4 separate regions of the Homo sapiens genome follow, and regions 1, 2 and 3 are each linked to region 4. The links are contacts of gene promoters, found by promoter capture Hi-C in blood cells and fetal thymus (Javierre and others, 2016). All regions are on one chromosome and are shown on one strand. The core of a region is centred on a gene start or on the middle of the fragment in contact, and the rest is flanking DNA. Distances in the headings are between cores, read along the strand shown. Region 1 overlaps ANKRD10 (ankyrin repeat domain 10). Region 2 has its middle 5.1 kb from the start of PRECSIT. Region 3 has its middle 11 kb from the start of LINC03082. Region 4 holds the start of RAB20 (RAB20, member RAS oncogene family).

What was found. Contacts are between HindIII fragments. The CHiCAGO score rates a contact against its expected background, and 5 or more counts as called.
Region 1: a fragment that was not itself captured here is called in contact with the fragment with the promoter of RAB20 in region 4 in 4 of 17 cell types (total CD8 T cells, activated CD4 T cells, non-activated CD4 T cells and 1 more); the score reaches 5.9 in total CD8 T cells.
Region 2: a fragment that was not itself captured here is called in contact with the fragment with the promoter of RAB20 in region 4 in 1 of 17 cell types (non-activated CD4 T cells); the score reaches 5.0 in non-activated CD4 T cells.
Region 3: a contact is called between a fragment that was not itself captured here and the fragment with the promoter of RAB20 in region 4, in 3 of 17 cell types (M2 macrophages, M0 macrophages and M1 macrophages). The highest score is 8.2, in M2 macrophages.

What each region holds. Positions count from the first base shown.
Region 1 is chr13:110,904,299-110,907,026 of GRCh38, forward strand. It overlaps ANKRD10 (ankyrin repeat domain 10), which reads right to left. Exons shown (of 6, transcript NM_017664.4): 3 at 1,735-1,826. Among named protein-coding and RNA genes, the nearest start is that of ANKRD10, 9.4 kb to the right of the region's middle. RefSeq lists an enhancer at 2,130-2,631. The HindIII fragment of the contact is 186 bases long and covers 1,177-1,362 here.
Region 2 is chr13:110,873,970-110,876,769 of GRCh38, forward strand. No RefSeq gene overlaps it. Among named protein-coding and RNA genes, the nearest start is that of PRECSIT, 5.1 kb to the left of the region's middle. RefSeq lists a silencer at 700-919. The HindIII fragment of the contact is 4,114 bases long and covers 1-2,800 here.
Region 3 is chr13:110,138,751-110,141,462 of GRCh38, forward strand. No RefSeq gene overlaps it. Among named protein-coding and RNA genes, the nearest start is that of LINC03082, 11 kb to the left of the region's middle. The HindIII fragment of the contact is 1,264 bases long and covers 798-2,061 here.
Region 4 is chr13:110,560,256-110,562,971 of GRCh38, forward strand. RAB20 (RAB20, member RAS oncogene family) reads right to left here and starts at 1,467. Exons shown (of 2, transcript NM_017817.3): 1 at 1,093-1,467. The coding sequence starts at 1,264. RefSeq lists silencers at 1,027-1,086, 1,066-1,255, 1,147-1,596. The HindIII fragment of the contact is 2,254 bases long and covers 1-2,024 here.

The DNA.
Region 1 (2,728 bases), core at 20-2,519, 340 kb after region 4:
GCCCATCTCAGCCACACCTGGTGGAAAAGAGACACTTGAGGGCCCTGTAACCAAGGACAGAATTGTAAATAAAAGATTCTCATTTTTTAAAAGACACCTACTAAAAAAAAAGGACATCGTGATATTTATTGGCTGAAAAGATTAAGCTATCCATAAAATGAATAAAACATCTTTGTAATAAAATGTTCAGGACCAATTAGAGTATTATTTAGAAAGTCATTAAAAATATCAACTTCTAATTATCCACTGTTTGAATAAATGACAAGCAATTTAATCATGTTATGACTCCGTATTTTATAATGAAAGTTTGTTATAAAAATTAGAGTTTTAAATCTAACTACAGCTAAGAAAAATGCACAAATAACTTTGCTTTAAAGCAATCCACTGAGAATCATCTCAATGTTCTACTAGTATATAAAACATACTATCAATTGTTTCTACATTACCTTTAGTCACAACTATACATGAAGTCGCGAGAGTCCCTGCAATGTAACAGTAAACAGAGGCCATGTTTATAATACCAGATCACTATATAAGGATCACAGCCCAAACTAATGGCGAATCTTGCCAATAAACTTAACAAAACAGAAGCTAAGCTATTCACAGATGATTGACAGCCTCCGGTACCTACACACGTCGTGCATTAGCCTGTATGGTTTTGCTGTCTAGGATCTATTTTCAATATAATACAGAGTCAAAGCAATGAAATGGAAACCAAAGGGTTAAACTAGTTTTGTGGGTTTTATTTCCTCCGAAGTCTAAATGTTCACATTTCTGATTAGAATAATGTGGTTTATAATTAATTTTCATGAATTATTCATAACACTTAAGGTAAAACAAAAAAGCTGATATTGGTTATTTTGGTTATTATAGCTCTATAGCTTACACTCAACATTTAAGGGTGAAAACCGCATCCATTTTGTTAATGCTGTGAACTGCAGAAGAAAAATTTTTATAATATAAATTTTTAAGAAAAAGTTAATACAAATAAATGTAACAACTAAAATAAATGTATAATGCCATGGCTAATGATTTGCATATAAGATCTCATTTCTAAAAGACTACACGTAAACATTAAGATTGTCCTATCAAAGCATAAATAAGCTAACTGATGTAAGCTGGGCTAAAACGAAAGATATTTAAAAATAATGCCACCAGTACCAGAAGCTTACAGCAAGCTTGAGGTCTTTAATGTAAATAGTCATATTTTACAAGGAACTATCAACCATTAAGTTACAATGGGCTTTAAAACATAACTTTCTCACATCTGCTAAGACGTGGAAATCAAAACCTAGAAAAGTGAATTTTCTTCAGAAACCTTCTGAGCCAGAGAGGTCTGAAAAGATATTTTAATCCAATCCAAGCTTCTTGTTTTGAAATCAAAATTAGGCAAAGAAAAGTTTAAAGACCACAGTGACACAACTAGTTAGTGGCAAAGTAATGGTGGCAAAGTAATGATGCCAAGTTCCAAATCTAATTAGTTAACTGTTCTTTCAGTTCAAATACACTCTCTCGACAAGAATATTGAGGCTGCTGTGAAATTAAACCCCCTCCTCTAGAGATCAATTTAATCCACACAATTTTCCTCACTAACACCAACTGTTCTAAAAGGCAAAATTACATTACTAATTTTGAAAACAAAGTTTTAGGACTTTTGCCTGCTTATGTACTGCCTTTAAACAAAACATCCTCAACTACATCTTTAGCTGGAAAGAATAAACGAAAGACACTTACTCGACGTGAGCCCCATTCGCCACAAGGGCACTGATGCATTCTAGGCTCCCAGAGCGAGCTGCCTTGTGAATGGGAGTTTCACCCTCACAATCCTGAAACAACAAAAAGCAAAATATACACATACTTAGAACAAAACTTCTGACATTTTGGAAGTAATGTCATTAACACAGATCAGAGACCTTCTCATCCTTTTTTGAAGTAAAACATGTTGAGCAAGATCTGAAGCAGAACACAAAGAAATCTATACGTGAATGGAGGATGAGAACGAACCAGGAGGGGCCAAGATATTTGGTCGTTGACCAAATATCTTGGGGCCTCTCCAGTAGTGACAGCGTGATTGCTCTCAACAGTGATTTATAAATCACTTTACACTGGATCTTAGCACGTGTGTTTTATATAAACCCAGAATAAGTAACCAAACAAACAAGCCAACCAACCAACCACACACACACATTAAAACGGTCATCAAGGCCAAGAAATAGCACATAATAGCTGACATATGGTCTCAGCTACCCACTTTCCTCTGTGCCTACCCCAATGCTAACCCGAGTCAACATCATCAATGCCGATCTTGAATCTTCTGCTTTGAACTTGAAGTGGGACCACAACTTAGACAAGATGGCTTGAGGTTCAACAGTTGATCTATTTTTCAGTATTTACTAGAGGGAATATTTACTAAATATTCCCAATCTATTTTCAGTATTTATTAGAGGAAAGGGAGAAGAACACAAAGGTAAAGCAAACCAAGCTTCATAAGAATGAAATTCCTGGTTCAGAAAGTGCAGAGGGGGTGGGGTGGCGGCGGTGGGGAGGTGAAGCACACACAGAGGCAGAGAAAAGTGAGCAGACCCAGGAAAGCCACTGTGAACATCAGCAGTCAACCCAGGTCTACACTGCATGAATGAAACAACCTGAAAGACCATCTTCATAGGCTATCAGCTAAGCAAGAGAGGGGAAAGGCAATCAGACACAGCAATCAAGAGAAGAAAGTGCT
Region 2 (2,800 bases), core at 70-2,569, 310 kb after region 4:
GTTCACACATGCACACATATAACATGTTTCACATACACTACCACCCATGCACATCAGCCACACATATAAAACAGTCACACCTGCACACACACAGTCACAAACGTCACACACATATAGCATTCACACATGCACAGCAGCCACATTTACACACATCCACATGCATCACACATTCATACACATCTGCACACACGTCACACAAATCAACATTCATACGTGCGCACACATCATACACATCCACACACATCACGTACATTCACACATAAACATTCACACATTCACACACACCAGATTACCACTCACATCCAATACTCAACGCTTCCCTTCACATTCTCACACATTTGCACACTCACACATTGCCAACGACACACTTCCCTCCACATTCCCCCTACATTCCCACACTGACACGCTCTCACACACTCCCAGTCCTCGCACACATTTGCACACTCACATCCATACATGGACACACATCCTCATGCTCGCTCACTCACATGCATTTGCAAACACTGATACACATCCTCACACGCACACTCGCACACTCAGGGTCTCCCTGGCTGCAGCTGTGCCCGGGCTCACTGTTACCGTTGCTCAGTGCAGACTCTTGGGGTGGTGTCCACCTCCAGCCCCCAGCTCCAGCCGTGCCCTGCCGCAGCCCCCGCTACCCTCCCACCGCCCCGGGACCCCTCACCCGCCCCGGCCCATCCCAACCACGGCCTCGCCCCAACCTTGGCTGCGGTTCCCCAAGCAGAGCCGCGCCAGAACCGCCCGGCTCACCCCCCTCTCCCCGCCCCTGCGCCTCTCTCCCGGTTCCCGCCCTCCTGATGGTTCGTCCCTGCACCCGCGCCGGCGCCCCGCCCCCGGTTCCCGCCCTCCCGAGGGCTCCTCCCTTCCACCCGCTGCCTGTTTCTTGGCTCCCCCTTTCCGGGAAACTCTTCAATGTTTCCCATGTTCTGTCTCCAAATTATTCTCCCGTTTTCTTCTCCTTAATAAAACCCCGAAAATCCAACCTATGGAAAAGTCAAAAAGGGTAATTCAATGAATACCCAGTCTACATTTTCCAGTATTTATCACTAGTTGCTTAGATCTCATCATTCAAAACATTCCAGCAGTTCTCTCACTGTGGCCTGCAGAACCCCAGGGTCCCCAGGACCCCATTTCAGGGGGTCCCCAAAATCAAAACGGTCTCATTACCGAGATGTGATTTGCCTTTTTCAGTGTTGACTTCGGCACTGAGGGTTCAAAAGAAATGGTGGGTAAAGCTACTAGCACCTTAGCAAAAACTGCCCCGGCCTGATCACCTTCATATTCTTCACTGCCGTGCAGTCAAAAAAAAGAAAAAAACCCAATTTCACTTAAGAATGCCCTCAATGCTGTAAACATGAGTAAATTTTGACAGCACACGTTCTCTGTGATGTAAAGGGAAGTGTGCATGAAGGATTTGTTGTGTACAGCTGTCTCCAGGAAAAGCACGGCTCTGGCTGATTGTGCGATAAGTGTATCCAGTGACTTTTTCAGAAACGTCATTTTCATTTGAAATAATGATTGACAAGCTATGTGATTAAAAAAAAAATAACCAGGTTGTAATGCAGTGGCTCAAGCCTGTAATCCCCGCACTTTAGGAGGCCAAAGTGGGCGGATTGCTTGAGGTCAGGAGTTTGAGACAACCTGGGTAAAATAGTGAGACCCCATCCCCCCAAAAAAAAAAAAAATTGCCGGGCATGGTGGTGCACGACTGGAGTCCCAGCTACCTCCAAGGCTGAGTCAGGAGGATCCCTTGAGCCCAGGAAGTCAAGGCTGTAAGGAGCCAAAATCGCATCACTGCACTCCAGCTTGTGCGACAGAGTGAGACCCCGTCTCAATTTAAAAAAACCAAAAAATTAACCAAGTGAGTCTTCTACTTCAAGGAAAACTGACAGTATTTGTGTCCAATGATAAAATTTGAGTTTTTCAGCAAAAATCAGGATGTTGTAAAACTTGTATCCAGTACCATGAGCTTGACAACTTCCAACTTTTGACTTTCATGAGATTATTGGTGATCAATGTTTTATTTTTTTGAGACAGAGTCTTGCTCTGTTGCCCAGGTTGGAATGCAGTGGCGTGATCTCGGCTCACTGCAACCTCTGCCTCCCAGGTTCAAGCGATTCTCCTGCCTCAGCCTCCCAAGTAGCTGGGATTACAGGTGCGTGCCACCACACCCAGCTATTTTTTTTTTTTTGTATTTTTAGTAGAGATGGGGTTTCACCTTGTTAGCCAGCATGGTCTCTATCTCCTGACCTCATGATCCACCTGCCTCGGCCTCCCAAAGTGCTGGGATTACGGGCGTGAGCCACCGCACCTGGCTGGTTATCAATGTTTTAATATTAATGAAAAGTTTCAACATTTGAAAGACTTGCAGAACTCAATTAAAAAATATTTCCCAAGTAATGCATAAAAAATTATGCATGGGTTAAAGGTCCATTCTAAGTGAAAGATGGACTCTACAGGAACGATACAAGAAGCTCACTGATGTGGATCCTGATTCAACATTGCAACTAGCCTTTAAGAAACTACTGTTACTGAATGGAAGGTCTTGACTGCGAGTTGTCCAGGTTCCTGGTGCAGCTGAATAAAGAATGGAACCAAACACACAAAGCAACAAAAGAAGTAAACAACGAAAGAAGCAAAAAAAGCGCAGATTTATTGTAGCAAAAGTACCCTCCAGAGTGGGAGCCAACTTGAGCCAGGGTCAAGAGTGCCCCCTCTAGGGTTTTTACTAAGCTAAAAGAATTTGGTAACACCCCTAGGTGACCTTTAGAGGCCTCCA
Region 3 (2,712 bases), core at 180-2,679, 420 kb before region 4:
GAAGGAGCTGGTATGAAAGGCTGTGAGTTCACAGGGTGCCACGTGCAGGGTTGGAGAGACCCCAGCCCCATCAGATCTCCTCTCTCCAGAAGCACCCTCCCTCTCCATCCCTCCAGAGGCCGGGGCCATGTGTCCACCCATGTGGAGGTGTAAGGAGAGCCAGAGGGAGAGGTTCCCACGTGGACCCAATGGCGAAAAGTCTTGCAGTCAAAATCACTTAGAAACATTCTGCGCAGAGCTGGCTGAGTGTTGGGTGACCAGGTGATTGATGCTCAGGCGTTAAGGGAACAATGGGCTGTCCTCTGCATGCTTTCAGAGCTGGAGGGGCCTTGCCACCGGCAGAAGCAGAAAGATCATTTAAGCAGCACCCTGAACAATGAGTGTTTTCAGAAAGTTATCGAACAGGCTTGTGAAATATTTTTCTCTTGATGTCTTTAAAAGATATTTTCACTTCTCCCGCGTGATTCAGGGTGGTTTGGAAGTGGGAGAAGAAGGAGGCTTGAGATGTTGAAGTTCACTGCAAAGTCCCTCCTTCAGGACTCTAATTATTAAATATTTTCTCTATATATACCTTGTCTATCCAAATGATCATGAACCTGGGATGGAGGATAGGATTTATTACCTTGTCTCCTCCCAAGGGGTCCAGAGAAAGCCATGTGAAATGAGGGGATGATTAATAAACATTAGATTGACTGATGACCTCCACAGTATGTGAAATTGTCTTTTATCAAAGCAGCAGGGAGACATAGTAGAGTCAGACAGGTATAACTCAAATGATCAGAAGGATAAGGATCAGAAGCTTCTGAGAACACGACTTGAAAACATCTCTTAAATCTGGAATAACAAAGGTTAAAGAAGATATGAATTATGAAAAGAATGATCTTAACAAAACCTCAGATACTTAAAAATTACTCTAGGGGACACCTTTTAATATTGCAGAGAGATCATCTTAGGCCCAATAAAACTAAATGCTATTTTTGCATCATGGGAATTGAATATAGGGAATTTGTCATTCAGGTAGAAATGAAGTTGACCACAAAATTATCCTCAGAATGATTTAGACACACGTGTAAAGGAGAATGCAGAAACAATCCACATTGGTATAAAGTCTCCTGAGGCAGGGGCTATGCCGTGACATTGCATCCCTGGACCTCACTCGGGGCCTGGATGAAGGAAGAGATGCCGTGTGCACTTCGTCTTGCATATTTCTCATTTAATCTTCCAGGCAACACTCAGATGTGGGCAACCTTTATTCCATTTGTAATCCAACCCTCAACCTCACCCTATCTATTGCATAACTCCTTTTTAATTCCTTAACCTGACAAATTACAGGTTTCTTCCACAATTATTATTTTTTTTTTTTTGCACAACACTTCTTAAGGACGACATTATCGATTTCCATTTATCCTGTACCTAACCTAGTACTTGGGAAATAATAAGCACGCAGAATATGAATGATGAAGAGATGGATCAGTGGATGGATGGATGGATGAACAGATGGATGAATAGATGGATGGATGAACAGATGAATGTATGTATGGATGGATGGATGGTGGATGGATGATGGATGGATGGATGGATGGATGAGTAGATGGAAGGAACAGATGGAAGGAAGCAGAGAATGAGTAAAAGGATGATAAGTGATACAGCCAAACAGGTTTTCTCTTTTTTTGTAAATCCTTCTCAGTCTATGATTCTGATTTGGAAGAATTACAAGTAAAAATGACCTAATTTGTGCAGATCTCTGAGAGGTTTTATATCTTACCCAAGGTCACAAGTTTGTAAGTGGCAGAGTCAGCATCTGAACTCAGATTTGTCTAGTTTCATGAGGACGACAAAATGACTCTTGGGTTCAGATACAGGATGGGTGCACTGAGTCTTAGGCTTTAAGAATTCTGGTGTAAAAGCGATGGTACCCCTAATGAGTACAAGCTAATGCATGTAATTTAAAGTCCAGTAAGCTAGAGTGAAAAAGTGCATGGAAAGAGCCAGCATACAGCCATTAAAATCGAAAAGCCCATGAATGATGGTTAACTAAATTGGTAGACTATGGTATGTTCAAGCTTTAGAAAAGAGAGTGAAAAGATTTTTTAAATGACCAAAGTTGAACCGTTTCATTCTCTTCCATTTATCACCATCATACTTAAAACCATCAAAACAAGTACTCTGTATTGTGGCTGGTGCCAGTCCCAGGTAAAGTTTAGCAGGCCACCCCAGCCTGTCTCTCCTGCTGAGTGCATGGAGCAGCTATTAGAGGACTCTGTCAGTGAACGGTAGCAGACAGACTGGGGAAGAAAACCAGATTTAGATGTGCCACCAAAGCAGGACAATTTTACCATATTTTTTCTCCAGTTCTCCTGCTGTTTAGCCCAGATATGGCTGCAGCCACAGAAATTATGTGCAGAGTAAGTAAAGACACAATTTTAGAAACAAGGAGTCAACAAGAGGAATGTTAGGCTCTGAAAAGTAATGGGGAGTTCAGTGGGACGGTGGAATGAGGGAAGGAGATCCAGTAAAATTGTTCATGGACTCCTGGACTCATCTTTGATGTGCGCGTGCATGGATCTGACTCTAAACAGCTACCAAACTGAAAACTGCCCACACTGCCCACACCCAGACAGGCCGTTGGTGGGCACGCATGCAGGACAGATCTGAATAGTACCGCAAAAACAGTTCTACCTATAGAAGGTGAATTGAAGCTTGCAGCCTGGA
Region 4 (2,716 bases), core at 217-2,716:
TGATTGCCAATAAATTAGTCACGATGTTAACTGGGATAATAATAAAAAAGCATCAAAGAAGGCAAAAGGGAGGGGGAGAACTGGAAGTACCTCTGTGAGCTTCGTTAATTCAGTTTTAAAGAGAGAATTCATTATCATCTTGTTTATTCAGCATACTGATACACCCAAGATGGCAATTTAAGAATTCTGGACGGGGCCTTTGGGTATATGACTTTTTAAGATGCTAACATAAAAGAAGTCAGAACTTTCAGAGTTTCAGGCTTCTAAAAACTCACACTCATTGAAAATGTGTCACACTATTTCCAGTTTCTTCATTCACTTACAATATCTTATTCTTTTGTAAGGAGAAGGAAATATATTCCATTGCAATGCTACAATCACCAGTGTTATTTTCCAAAGTTAAACAGAAAGCCTGAATTGAGATCCTCTAAGTTGTACTTTTGAAAAGTCACAAATACTACACAATAAAAATAACTCATTACCTATCTTAAAAATGCTTCCACCGGAAGTCACTCCAACCCAAACCCATATGACGTATCTGAGCCAAGATCAAGCAGAAGATTAACTGTAAAAGGCAGATATGCTCCGGGCTAAGAGGTCCGGAGGCTCCAGTTTTATTTCCTCTCTCCTGACTAAACCCAACAGGGGGGAACACTCTGTGCCTCATTTTACTTTTTCTTAGAAAGGGGCTAATAACACCAGCTCTGCTCACCCCTCAAGTGAATCTCAAAGGATATCATGTTCCTACGGGTACGTGAAAACTGAAAATACCTAACAAAGCAGCCACAGAGGAGCGTCTCTGGTTCCCAGGGCGGCAGAGCAGGAACGCGGGGCTCGGGAGCAAAGGCAGCTTAGGTACACAAATGACCAGCGGGTTCTCTGCAACTTGGGTTGTCCCTGAGGTCACTGAGTGGCTGAGAGGCAGCGCTCAGCCCAACCAGCAAGGGAGGACGAGTGGGAAACCCCGAGAAGGAGGCATTTGCTGTCCGAGGCCGGGACCCTGTGCGCGGCCGGGTGCCCTGCTGGAAGCCCCGCGCCCCCCGTCCCCGGCGGAGCCCCAGGGCGGTGTGGCTCATGCGGCGCCGGCCTCACCTGCGGTGTCCCAGATGGAGATGTTGTAGGAGCGCCACTGCTTCAGGTAGAAGGCGCCGCCCACCGTGCTGACCGTGTCCGGGAAGCGCCGCTCCATATACCGCTGCAGCAGCGACGTCTTCCCCACGTTCATGTCCCCCAGGAGCACGATCTTGCTGTCGGGCTTCCTCATCTTCCCGTAAGAACCCCCAGCGCCCCCGCGCCCTCTCCCCGAGGCTGGCCGGCTCGTGCGCCCTGGGCGCAGCTGGAGGAGCGGACCCCGGACTCGCCGGGACCCGGATTCTCGTGAACGCTCCGGGACCTTCGCCTCCGGACGCCCGGGAGCTCAAGAGAGGAAGCGCGTGTGCGCGCCCGGGAAGGAGCTGGGTGCAGAGCACGGAGCCCACGTCGGGGGCCCGGACCGCGGCGGCCTCGCCTCGCCCCGCCCCCGCCCCCGCCCCCGGGCCCTTTCACCGCCGCGGCCCCGCCCTATCCTCCTCCGCCCACCGCCCCCGTCCCGCCCCTGCTGGACCTCGCCGTTTCGCAAGCATCCGAGTTCTCCAGCCGAGGCTCGGGACTGCTGCAGGGTGGAAAATGAAAGTTCTGAGAGCACCTTCCGCCCCTCCGCTTCTGCACAGCCGGGGCTGCGGTGCGAGGAGCTTGGCCGCGGGGCCCGAACGAGGCGAAGGGGCCGGGGCCCTTGGGGAACCCCCTTCTCTCTTCCACTCTCCCTTAGGTAAAACCCGTGTTCCTCTCACGCTCGACCCAGCGCCTTTCCAGCTGCGGTCGATTTGCTTCTCCGCGTGTAAGTACAGCCACCCTCAAGGTCATTGAAAAAGTTTGCTTTAAATGAGCGTCTGCGGAACTCGTCCTGAGGCTCTCACTGTTACAGATTAGAGATGGGGGCGCTTTCTAGTGGAGGATTTTGCTTTTGCTCTTCTACTTTTGCAAGAAGCTTTTTGTCCTGAAAAGTGGACAGTCATCTCCATTTATAGCTTGGAATGAAAATTTGACTATGGAAGTTGCAGTCGCTACTTGAGAAATATTTCCTCCTTCTTTTTTTTTTTTTTTTTTTATTTTTGACACGGAGTTTTGCTGTTGTTGCCCAAGCTGGAGAGCAGTGCGCGATCTCGGCTCACTGCAACCTCCGCCTTCCGGTTTCAAGCGATTCTCCTGCCTCAGCCTCCCGAGTAGGCGGGATTACAGGTATGTGCCACCATGCCCGGCTAATTTTTGTATTTTTAGTAGACACGGGGTTTCACCATGTTGGCCAGGCTGGTCTCGAACTCCTGACCTCGTGATCCACCCGCTTCGGCCTCCCAGGTCCTCCTTCCGTTTTAAAGGATAAACCTTGAAATGCTTTTAAAATATGCAGCGTGTAGAATTTGGTTAGTTGGTTGGTTGGGGTTTTTTAGAGAAAATGAGAGGTAGAATGGACTCTAAGTTAAACCCTGGGGGACAGTGTCACTCTGGCCGCTGGCCTGGCTGGGAAAGGCGATGAGACCCTGAGCAGGTTAAAACCCGTGTCCTGAAGGTGTCCTGTAAAGGGAAATAGGCCCGTTGCCTCCTTCGTAGGTGCCCTGAGACTCCGACAAGGCAGGAATGCCAAGGTATTTCGTACCTGCTCAGCCCTGGCATGTCAGGT